Regions from separate parts of the Homo sapiens genome. Here regions 2 and 3 are each linked to region 1. The links are contacts of gene promoters, found by promoter capture Hi-C in human tissues and cell types (Jung and others, 2019). All regions are on one chromosome and are shown on one strand. The core of a region is centred on a gene start or on the middle of the fragment in contact, and the rest is flanking DNA. Distances in the headings are between cores, read along the strand shown. Region 1 holds the start of ST6GALNAC2 (ST6 N-acetylgalactosaminide alpha-2,6-sialyltransferase 2). Region 2 has its middle 3.6 kb from the start of MXRA7. Region 3 overlaps UBE2O (ubiquitin conjugating enzyme E2 O).

Region 1 (3,104 bases), core at 231-2,730:
GAGACGAGGTTTCGCCATGTTGCCCAGGCTTATATCAAACATGTATTATTTCTTTGCATTGAGATACTTTGTGTTTTAAACATCTTTACATAAAAGTGACAAGGATTCCTTTTCTTTTGAGACAGGGTCTCTCTCTGTCAACCAGGCTGGAATGCAGTAGTGCAATCACAGCTCACAGCCTCGAATTCCTGGCCTCAAGCTATCCTCCCACCTCCGCCTCCCAGAGTGCTGGGACTACAGGCGTTAAGTCACCGTGGCGGGGCAAGCACCCTTTGTTCTAAGAGTGCTGGACTCCTGATCACTGGCAAGCTGTTTCACATTGTTCTGCAACTTTTGGTGTATCCTTTGACAGCATCTGTGGAGACCAGATACTTATTTTGTTTTCATCCCGTTAGCCCCCCAGCAAGGTTGGTAGGGGGTGCGCAGATGGAAAAGCTCCAGGAAGGGAAAGGCTGGGGCTGGAGGCCTCTCCCTGAGGCTGCCGGGCCCTTCCCTCCTCCCAAACCCAGACTTCGCACGGCTTGGTCCGCCTTTCTTAAGCTAAGCGAAATCGTTTTGCGGCTTCTTCAGTCACCGGAACCACCACCTGCTAGAGGCCGGCTCCCAGGTTCTCCTCGTGGGACACCCAGGAAAGTGCCTAGGGAGGAGGAGGGAGTGGAGCGCAGGACGCGGCGCGGGGAGGAGAACGCGGATGGAGCCAGGAGTCACCCCTCTTTCCCTCGGGCGCCCGCCTCTTCGCGGATCGCGCCCGCACTGGGCTTATCCAGACACGGCGAGCGGAAGCCGGGGAGAAGGGAGCGGGCGCGGGGCGGACAGAGACCGCAGCGGGCGGGAAAGGCGACTGGCCGCGGCCCGACGGAGGGTCCCCGCGAAGTTGGAAACCGGAGACTTGGGCCCCTGCCCAAAAAGCAGAATCTGACGTTACCGAGGGAGAGTTCCCGACAAAAAAGGAAGTTTTTATCTGCTTCGGGGACCCAGCCAGATTTCGACAATAGAAAGTGTACTTATCAGGCCGGGGAGGACTTCACCAACAAGGGGCACCGGGGCGGGTCGCCAGTGCACAGGGGCGAGGTCTTCCTTGGACCCAGGCAAAGGCCGCGGGGTCCGGGCAGCGCGAGGTCAAGGCTGGGAGAGGGTTCTGGCGACAAAGGGCCGCGGCCGAGTCCTCGCTGAGAGCTGCCCCAGAGGGGTCCACGCGGAGGTTGGGCTGAGGGCTGCGGGCCGCCGGGGAGCCCTGGGCTGGGGACCCTCCCCGCGCCCTGGTCGCCCCTGCGCCCTCCCGCTCTGCGCTCGGCAGCCCCTACCTGGCTCCGGCCGCTGGCCCCGGGTACCGCTGCACCGCCGAGAAGTACAGGGCAAAGAGGAGCCCCGAGCAGGCAGCCGTGAGCAGGAGCAGCAGCCAGAAGAACGACCCGCGCGGGAGCCCCATACAGCCCCGGCCCGCGAGCGCCCCGTCCGCTGACGTCCCAGGCAGAAGGGAGAGAACCGGGTGGGCCGGGTGGCACTTGCGGAGGCGGCCGTCTTGCCCTGCCCCGCCCTGCCCGCCGGGTGCCTGCGGCGCCTGCCCGCCCGGCAGCTCCCTCTCGGCCCCGGCTGAGTGGCCAGAGGCTGCCGCACCCTCGGGAGCTGGGCGGCGGGTCCCCCGGGGCTGGAGTGTCGTCCCGGCGCCCAGAGCGCGCGCTCCTTTGGCCCTGCCCCCTGCCCGGGGGACTTCGGCAGCGGCCACTCCTGCCACTGCGCTCTCTCCAGAGCCCAGCCCCGGGAGGCCGCCAGTCTCGGGTTGGGCAGGGCGCTTTCCTCGCGCCGTCCGGGGCTAGCTAGGCGCGGGTAGACGCCGCCACCTGCTGCGCTGGCTGCGCTCTGCCCTCTGCGGGCCCGGCACTCGGCCTCTAGACTCTGTGGCGGGTGGGCGGCGGCCGGGAGGAGATGTGCCCGGCTCCCTCCAAAGGACCCTCAGATCTGTCAGTCTGCGGACGCCAGGACAGCTGGGAGGGGGCGGGCAGGGTGGAGGAGCAAAACCCGACAGCTCAGTCTCTGGGCTGGCGGTAGAGGGGGGAAAAGGGGGTGAGGTGGGGAGCTTGCCGTGATGGGTTTCGTGGGGGAGCTAAGGCTGTCAGCGCTTATTTGGTAACCATCCAGGGTGGCCAGTCCCCTCAATCGCATTGAGTTCCTTTCACAGAACGAGGCCAGTCAGAGAGACCACCTGAAATGTTCAGCACAACGGGTTCCCAAACTTATTGGCACCAGGGACTGGTTTCCTGGAAGACAATTTTTCCACGGAGGGGGGTGGGGGTGGGGGGGTTGGGGATGAAACTGTTCCACCTCAGATCATCAGGCATGAGTTAAGATGCTCTCATAAGGAGCCCGCAACCTAGATCCCTGGCATGCGCATTTCACAAAAGGGTTCGCACTCCTTTGAGACTCTAATGCCGAGGCTGATCTGAAGGAGGCGGAGCTCAGGCGGTAATGCTCCTTCCCCCTCCACTCACCTCCTGCTGCGATGCCCTGTTCCTAACAGGTCTCGGACCAGGCTTGGGATTGGGGACCCCTGGTCTAGCAGGCTCCAGCATCAGAAAGGGCTGGGAAGCTCAGCACCCGTGCTCTCTAAGTGGAACACTCCCTGGCAGTGAGTGATGGATGAGATGGGTGTGCTTCAGTGGCCACTGTTCGGCAAGCTGTGACATGCGGCAGGCTGTGACATGCCCCAGACTCCCAACTGTCAGCAGGCTGCAAGGATGAGAGGGACCTAGGCTACCGTGTCACGGGCCTTTGGCTCTAATCTGTTCTTCATGTATCCGAGGAAGTCTGGGTGCAGCAACAGGTACCTGTCTGATTGCAAGGCTTCCCGAAAACCTCCCAGGGCCTGGGCCTGTGGTCAGGAATGGCCATTCAGTCCATCCAGTCTCAGTACTCCTACCAAGTCAGGGTCACTGGAGGTCACTCACATTGGGCCAGTTCTTTCCTTCACCCCAAGACTGCTCAGCAGAGCCAGACTCATCTTGCTACCCCGCAGATGGGCACTACTTGGAATTTATGGTGTCACGACTTTCATTTCAATCTTTATGGGTTTACTTGTCAAAATTCCTGTAGATGTTACTTATCCC
Region 2 (3,297 bases), core at 75-2,574, 130 kb after region 1:
AAATACCAACCCAATAGCAGATCCACAGGCTTTCATGGCAGACCCCATGGCTAGACGGACGCAGAACTAGGAGACTGCTCAGTGTTCTGACAACTCCAGGAGGCACGAGTGTGCAGAAGACAGTCCCAGTTCTTCTGTAGCATCCAGTCACTTTGGAGACAGCTGGCCAGGGCTAGCTCTCCTCCCAGGAGGTTCACTGGGGCTTAGATGACATTTCTTTTTTTTTAAAGACAGAGTCTCGGTCTGTCACCCAGGCTGGAGTGGCTTGATCTCAGCTCACTGCAACCTCTGCCTCCTGGGTTCAAGTGATTCTCCTGCCTGAGTTGACCAAGTAGCTGGGACTACAGGCATGTGCCACCACACCTGGCTAATTTTTGTATTTTTAGTAGAGACGGGGTTTCACCGTGTTGGCCAGGCTGGTCTTGAACTCCTGACCTCAAGTGATCCACCTGCCATGGCCTCCCAAAGTGCTGGGATTACAGGGGTGAGCTACGGCGCCTGGCCGAAATTTCTGAACAATGAGACAAAGTTGAGAGCCACCGCCTGGGGGTGCAAGCTCACCTAGTTTTGCTGCATAGGATGTCACATCTTGACACAAGCTAGTGGGAGGGGAGTGTGGAAGAAGCCGCCAGACTCCACTTCAAATCTACCAGCAATACCAGTACACACATCAAAAACAACTTACTCGTGGAAATACTACAGACAATCTAAAGAACCTACAGCTGGGGCATCCTTATACGCCTTCCTCCTACACAGCATTTTTTACATTTACTGCAAAAATTTTGTTCCATCCTATACTCGTCTAAAGTCCTAAATCCAAGGCTCAGTCTCTAGTAAGCTTATAAAGCATTTGCACCAGCAACCTTCCCACAGATCCTTAGTTTTGCTACTTTATGAAGAAGCTGTTACTACCTTAAGTATACATTGGTGTTAATTATGCTCTTTCATGTAGATCCGTTACACCTGCATTTAAGAAGGTCTGCACTTTCTTCTACCTGCCCTCACCAGCGGCCCTGTGAACAGCCGCAACAGCCGCACATTCACTGTCCATTAAGCTTGTGGAGCTTGTCAGGGACCTGGGCTTGTCACCGTTATCTCCAGCACCTCAAGAGCAGTGCCTGGCCCTCAAACACCTATTGAACGCTTGAATTATTAAGACACGGACAGCTGCAAGAATACAGCAAAATGTGAATGTCCCTCTTTTCAGTGGCTCTCCCCTCAAGGATGTCACCCTAAACATCCCAGTACCACTAATGGCAGAGGCATGTGTGTGAAGCATGGATTCTTCCAGCTGATGGTGAAGCCTCATCCCCAAAGACCCAGGGTCCTCCTGATGTTCTAGGTCCCCAACTCTTCTCTCTCCCACTCTGGTCCTTCCATCAGAAGTTAATAATCCAAGATCCCTTCTTCCAGGACCCAGCTCTTTGGTTTTAAGATCTGCTGTCATCTTGGAGAATCATCCCTGAAAATAATCTAACATTATCTCCTTCACTTTACTGTTGTTGGCACCATTCAATGGAGTAGCTCACGCCAGATGGGAAGAGGAGTTAACTTCTGAACAAGTGGTCTCTGGGTACCCACTCTTCCTAGTCTACCTTGGCCACCCGCCACCACTCCACTCCTTTTCCACACACGGTTTCCCCACCTTGCCCCTGTTGTGCTTACATAACGGACAGCCTGGCTAGCCCACAGAGACAGTAACGGGGGTTGGGGAATAGGGCTGCTGAATCCCTGGCCTGGCAGGAATAAACAAAGCATGTCCCAGGAGCACAGAATCTGTACTATCCAGACACTGTACTATCCAGAGCTGACTTGGGCCTATCAGATATGTTATTCCCCTCATTTCTGGAATACTGTTATCAAACAGGAATCAACTTTAGCATCTGGAGAAAGAAAACTGGGTGGCTAATCTTTATTTTCTAGATTATTATTTTTTTGAGAGATGGGATCTCACTATGTTGCCCAGACTGGTCTTGAACTCCTGGACTCAAGCAATCCCCCTGCCTCAGCTTCCCAAAGTGCTGGGATTACAGGTGTGAGCCACTGCACCTGGCCTTGGTGGCTAATTTTTAAAATTCAAAATTTCTGCTCCCCTATCCAGACCACTGGCAACGTGTCCTACCACGCCCCCTGGTGGCAAAGAGCCTTTTTGGGCTGTTTTTTATTTTAAACTGAAGTTTAGAGGAGTTGTTGATAGAAAACTGAAAGGAAGGTAAGGAAAAAGGGCAAGCGTGGCAGCACAGGAGCAATGCTGGGAAAAAGAAAAAAGCTTTTTATAGATGGCAAGAAAAGTCTTTTTAAAAAGCAGGAGTAGCAACACCACTCAGATATTACTACCAAGAGATTATACATTCAGAGTTTGACTTTACTCACACCCAAACACATCCTGTGCCCACCACAGAACCAAGGGGGCTGTGGGCGTGGGGGTAAGGAGGGAGAGCAGCCCCCATGGCAGGCAGGCAGCACAGTTCTACCTACCCAGCCACATACTGGGGTTGGCATTTGAGGATGCAGAAAATTGAACTAAGACAAAAATAGAGAACCAGCCTCCTAGAGTAAAGCCACATGACCCAATGTCAGGAAATGACAGTCTGTTAATAACAGTGAGCAGAGACCTGTATTTTCCTGGTTACACCTGTTTCTAGTGGATATTTTGAGAGGCAACAGCACACAATTCTAACACATCCACACACAGCCTCCCTGCCTGTGAACACTGCAGTGAGAGCTCCTTCCCACCTGCCTGCCAATGCCTCCAACGCTCCAGCCCAGGCAGTGCTTCCAAGTGCGCCCCATGGCCTTGACAACCCCTCTTATTGAAGTTTAGTTGAATTTAGGGACAAATTAAGGCAAGCAGGTGAATCAAGAGGGCAAGAGATGGCATCTGCTGGTCAATCCCCAAAAAGTCATCCAGTTAGTTATTTAGAAGTATCAACAGACTGCAAAGACTACAGGTGCCATCTCTGAATTTACTCCCCGTGTGTAACACAAGTCACCCACTTAACGTCTGTAGGTCAAACAAATGGGGAACGCTAATCTCAGAGTACCTCGCAAAGTGAGCACTTCTTATGGATCCCATGGTGCGGAAGAATGGAGCCTATTCATACTTTAAGTTCTGTGGTAAGAGCACATTGCACACCGTTCCCACTCTATGCAAACAAAAAACCCCAATGTATCACCCCCCCACAAAAAAATACACTGTACAAAAACACCCCTGAAATTTCAGTCTCTATGATGATGGAGAAAAAGATAAGGAATCCTAAGACAGACTGAGCAGTGGGTGATGGTGATGGTGCTGGG
Region 3 (3,275 bases), core at 324-2,823, 140 kb before region 1:
TCCCTTATGTGCATCAGTCATTCACCCACTAATTCCACTCATTCGCATGTGTGCAATCTGCCATTTCCCAAGTGCTCACTAAACAAATCTCTCCTAGCACCTACTTTGGGCCAGTCACTGAGGATATAGCAGTGACAGAGATGCTTCTGTGCTTCTCTTACCTTCCGGCTGGGGACAGTAAACAGGACATGAAGTAGTATAATCTCAGGTAATGCCAGGTGCTATGAGGGAAAAAAGCTGAGTAGGAGATCACAGCGATGGTTCTCTCTCCTATCTAAGTCTCTGAAGCAGTGCTACCCAATCCAGTAGCCACTATGGTAAAAAGAACGCACAGTCTCTCATTAGTACTTATCATATGAGTTATATGTTGATATAATATTTTGAATACATTGGGTTAAGTAAAATATATTAAAATTAATTTCATCTCTTTGTTTTTTTTACTTTGAGACAGGGTCTTGCTCTGTTGCCTAGGCTTAAGGGCAATGGGTCGCACGATCACGGCCCATTGCCACCTCGACCGCCAGGACTCAAGCGATCCTCTCACCTCAGCCTACTGAGTAGTTGGGACTACAGGCGTAAGCTGCCACGCTAAGATGATTTCTGTACTTTTTGAAGAGATGGGGTTTCATCATGTTGCCCAGGCTGGTCTCGAACTCCTGGCCTCAAGTGATCCGCCTGGCTTGGCCTCCCAAAGTGTTGGGATTATAGCCATGAGCCACCATGCCTGGCCTCTATTTACTTTTTTCAGCTGTGGCTCACATTGTATCTCTATTTTTCAGGATCCTTCCAGAGCAGAGGTGGGAAAACTACAGCCTGCAGGTCATGTCCAGCCTACTGCCTGTTTCTTAAAATTTTATTGGAACATGACCATGCCCATTCATTTGCTTACTGCCTCTGAATGCTTTTGTGCTATAATGGCAAAGCTGAGTTGTTGTGAAGGAGACAGTATAGCCTGCAACACTAGGACATTTATCATCTGGCCCTTTACAGAAAGTTTGGCTGGCCCCTTATCTAGAGGGCAGGGCCTGTGTGGGGGTATCTCTCTCCCCACAGCACCCAGCACAGTGCAGGGGGCACCCGTGTAGTCAGTGAAGAGAACCTGCATTCGGGCAGCACAAACTGGCCTAAGTTTGAATTTGGGTTGGCCTCCCACTTGCTATGTGGCCTTGGTGAGTTATAAGCTTTCTCTGGGTTTCAGTCTTTCCTTTTCTAAAATGGGGCACTGGCCACTTTAAGGGAAGTGAGATGACACAGGTAAAGTGTGAGTTAACATGCCTGGCTCACAGCAGGAATCCATTGACACTGGCTGGATAAAAGACAGCAATTTCATTAAAATGCTGAATAATCATTCTCCTCTTGGATTGGGTGTGTTATACTCAAAACAACTACCATATTTACATCCTAAAATGAAATGAAATCAAATGAAACTTCTTAGCAACAGCAGTGCATTAATAATAACCACCAGCAAGCAATGGGGAGGAAGAAAGAGGCAAGCCTTTCTAACACTAAAGCACTGGCGGATGATGAGTCCGCCTCATCCCTTTCCTGCCCCTCCTGCAGCCCACCTTTGGACAATTCCCGGTTCATTAACACTGGCACTAGAAGAATAAGCAGAGGGGAGAGAAAAAGCCTCGAACCAAAGACGTACTAAAACTGAACCCATTGACATCAACGAGGTTTGGAAGGGCCCATATAAGTGCAATTCAAAAGACAGTCCCAGCCAGCAGCATCAATGTCACTGGGAGTTTGTTAGACACGCAGATTCTTCAGCCCAATGGAATTAGGACAATTTGCATTAGGAGACCCTAGGTGATGGCATGTGGCATTCACCTTGGAAAAGTGCTGGATTAGAATCCATTTATTCATGCTCTCTTCACTTCCCCCTCCCCCTCCACTGATAAACAGGGGTGGTTATATCTACTTTCAATAGATGGTTCCTGACTCCTTCAAAGTAATAGGCCTGGCATAGCCACTGCAACTCCAGGCCCCGCCCCCAAGGGTCTTGGTGCAGGCAGAGTGCATAGCCTAAGCTGCGTTCCTGATTCATTTGCAGTCGGGTGGGGCATTCTTTTTCCAATAGAGAGCCTCGTTCGTACTTAGCCATCCTCCTAAGGTGAGGACTGGGTGCTGATAACCATTCAGGAAACCCACGTGTGTGGAATCTGCCATTTGTCAAGTGCTTTAGGCGGGGTTCTTACAGGGGAAATGCAGCCAGAAGCAGCTTCATTTCGACCACAGGTGACACCAGCTCTAGCTAGCTCTAGCCTAGTCCACAATGCACGTAGTCTGCCTGGGGAGCCCGCGACGGAAGTTGCCAAAGTAGTAACTACAATATGGTGTATTCTGATTAATCTGCTCTTCCTAGTATTAGGATGCCCATACGTCCCAGTCCTGGAGTAATTATTCATAGTACTCTCAAAAGAACCCAACTTGGGCAATAAATTACTGTACATGGTCAACACACCTAGTACGGGGGGTGGGAGACAGAGTGGTCTAGTAAGGGGCCCATACAGCTCCAGCACAGACCACAGGGCATCTGGAAGAAGACTAAGAATACTATTTGTAGTAAGTGGGAGGGAGCAAACTGGTCATTCATGAAGATGTTTCCCAAGAGTCTGCATGTGCGTGATAGCACACAAGCTTTAGGATTTGCTGTCTCTGTTTCTCAAGGAGCTTCCCATCCAGGAGAGAATGTGGGTGTGCCATGGGGCATGAGAGGAAGGGAACGGCACAATTGAGTTGGGGAAAAGCAGTCAGATTGGCTGGAATCAACTGAAGAGGCAGGAGATAGAGCAGGATGTGTAGGTGAGGGGCCCTGAATGACAACCAAGGCATGATCAGAGGCTGGGTCCTGACACAATCCAGGCGATCACTTGGGAGGTCAGCCCTTTGGAGGTCAGTTGGCGGCAGCGCTGTTCACTGGTTGAAGGAGGACTAGAGGCAGGGAGACCAGGGAGAAGGCTACACAGTGCAGGCATGAGGCAAGCAGAGAGCAAACCAGGGTTGTGAAAGGGAAATGCAGGCACAGGATGCAAGAGGCCTCTCAAAGAACTGATGACAAGTTAGAATGAGGGCCAAAGAAGGTAAATTAAAAATGACCCCAAATGCTCTAATTTTGAGAAGATTCAAGCTTAGGTATTTAGGGGTGAAGTGCTATCATGTCTGCCACTAACTTAGCAGGAGTTAGTACCAGACATAATTCAGGAGGAAATATATTTACATAAGCATACAGATAAGGCAAATATGGCAGGATGTTAACAACTGCTGACTCATAA

The links. The method cuts DNA at HindIII sites, captures the fragments that hold promoters and counts their contacts. A contact is called where the count stands out against the background at its distance.
Region 2: a fragment that was not itself captured here is called in contact with the fragment with the promoter of ST6GALNAC2 in region 1 in 1 of the 25 tissues and cell types used here (spleen).
Region 3: a fragment that was not itself captured here is called in contact with the fragment with the promoter of ST6GALNAC2 in region 1 in 2 of the 25 tissues and cell types used here (H1 embryonic stem cells and dorsolateral prefrontal cortex).

The regions. Positions count from the first base shown.
Region 1 is chr17:76,584,380-76,587,483 of GRCh38, forward strand. It overlaps ST6GALNAC2 (ST6 N-acetylgalactosaminide alpha-2,6-sialyltransferase 2), which reads right to left and starts at 1,481. Exons shown (of 9, transcript NM_006456.3): 1 at 1,305-1,481. The coding sequence starts at 1,429. RefSeq lists silencers at 1,238-1,577, 1,628-1,917 and enhancers at 1,786-2,467, 2,468-3,104. The HindIII fragment of the contact is 21,800 bases long and covers 1-3,104 here.
Region 2 is chr17:76,712,894-76,716,190 of GRCh38, forward strand. It overlaps a transcript of JMJD6 not described here. Among named protein-coding and RNA genes, the nearest start is that of MXRA7, 3.6 kb to the left of the region's middle. The HindIII fragment of the contact is 3,371 bases long and covers 1-3,010 here.
Region 3 is chr17:76,439,898-76,443,172 of GRCh38, forward strand. All of the region lies in intron 1 of UBE2O (ubiquitin conjugating enzyme E2 O), which reads right to left. Among named protein-coding and RNA genes, the nearest start is that of UBE2O, 12 kb to the right of the region's middle. RefSeq lists enhancers at 1,154-1,671, 3,096-3,215. The HindIII fragment of the contact is 6,251 bases long and covers 1-3,275 here.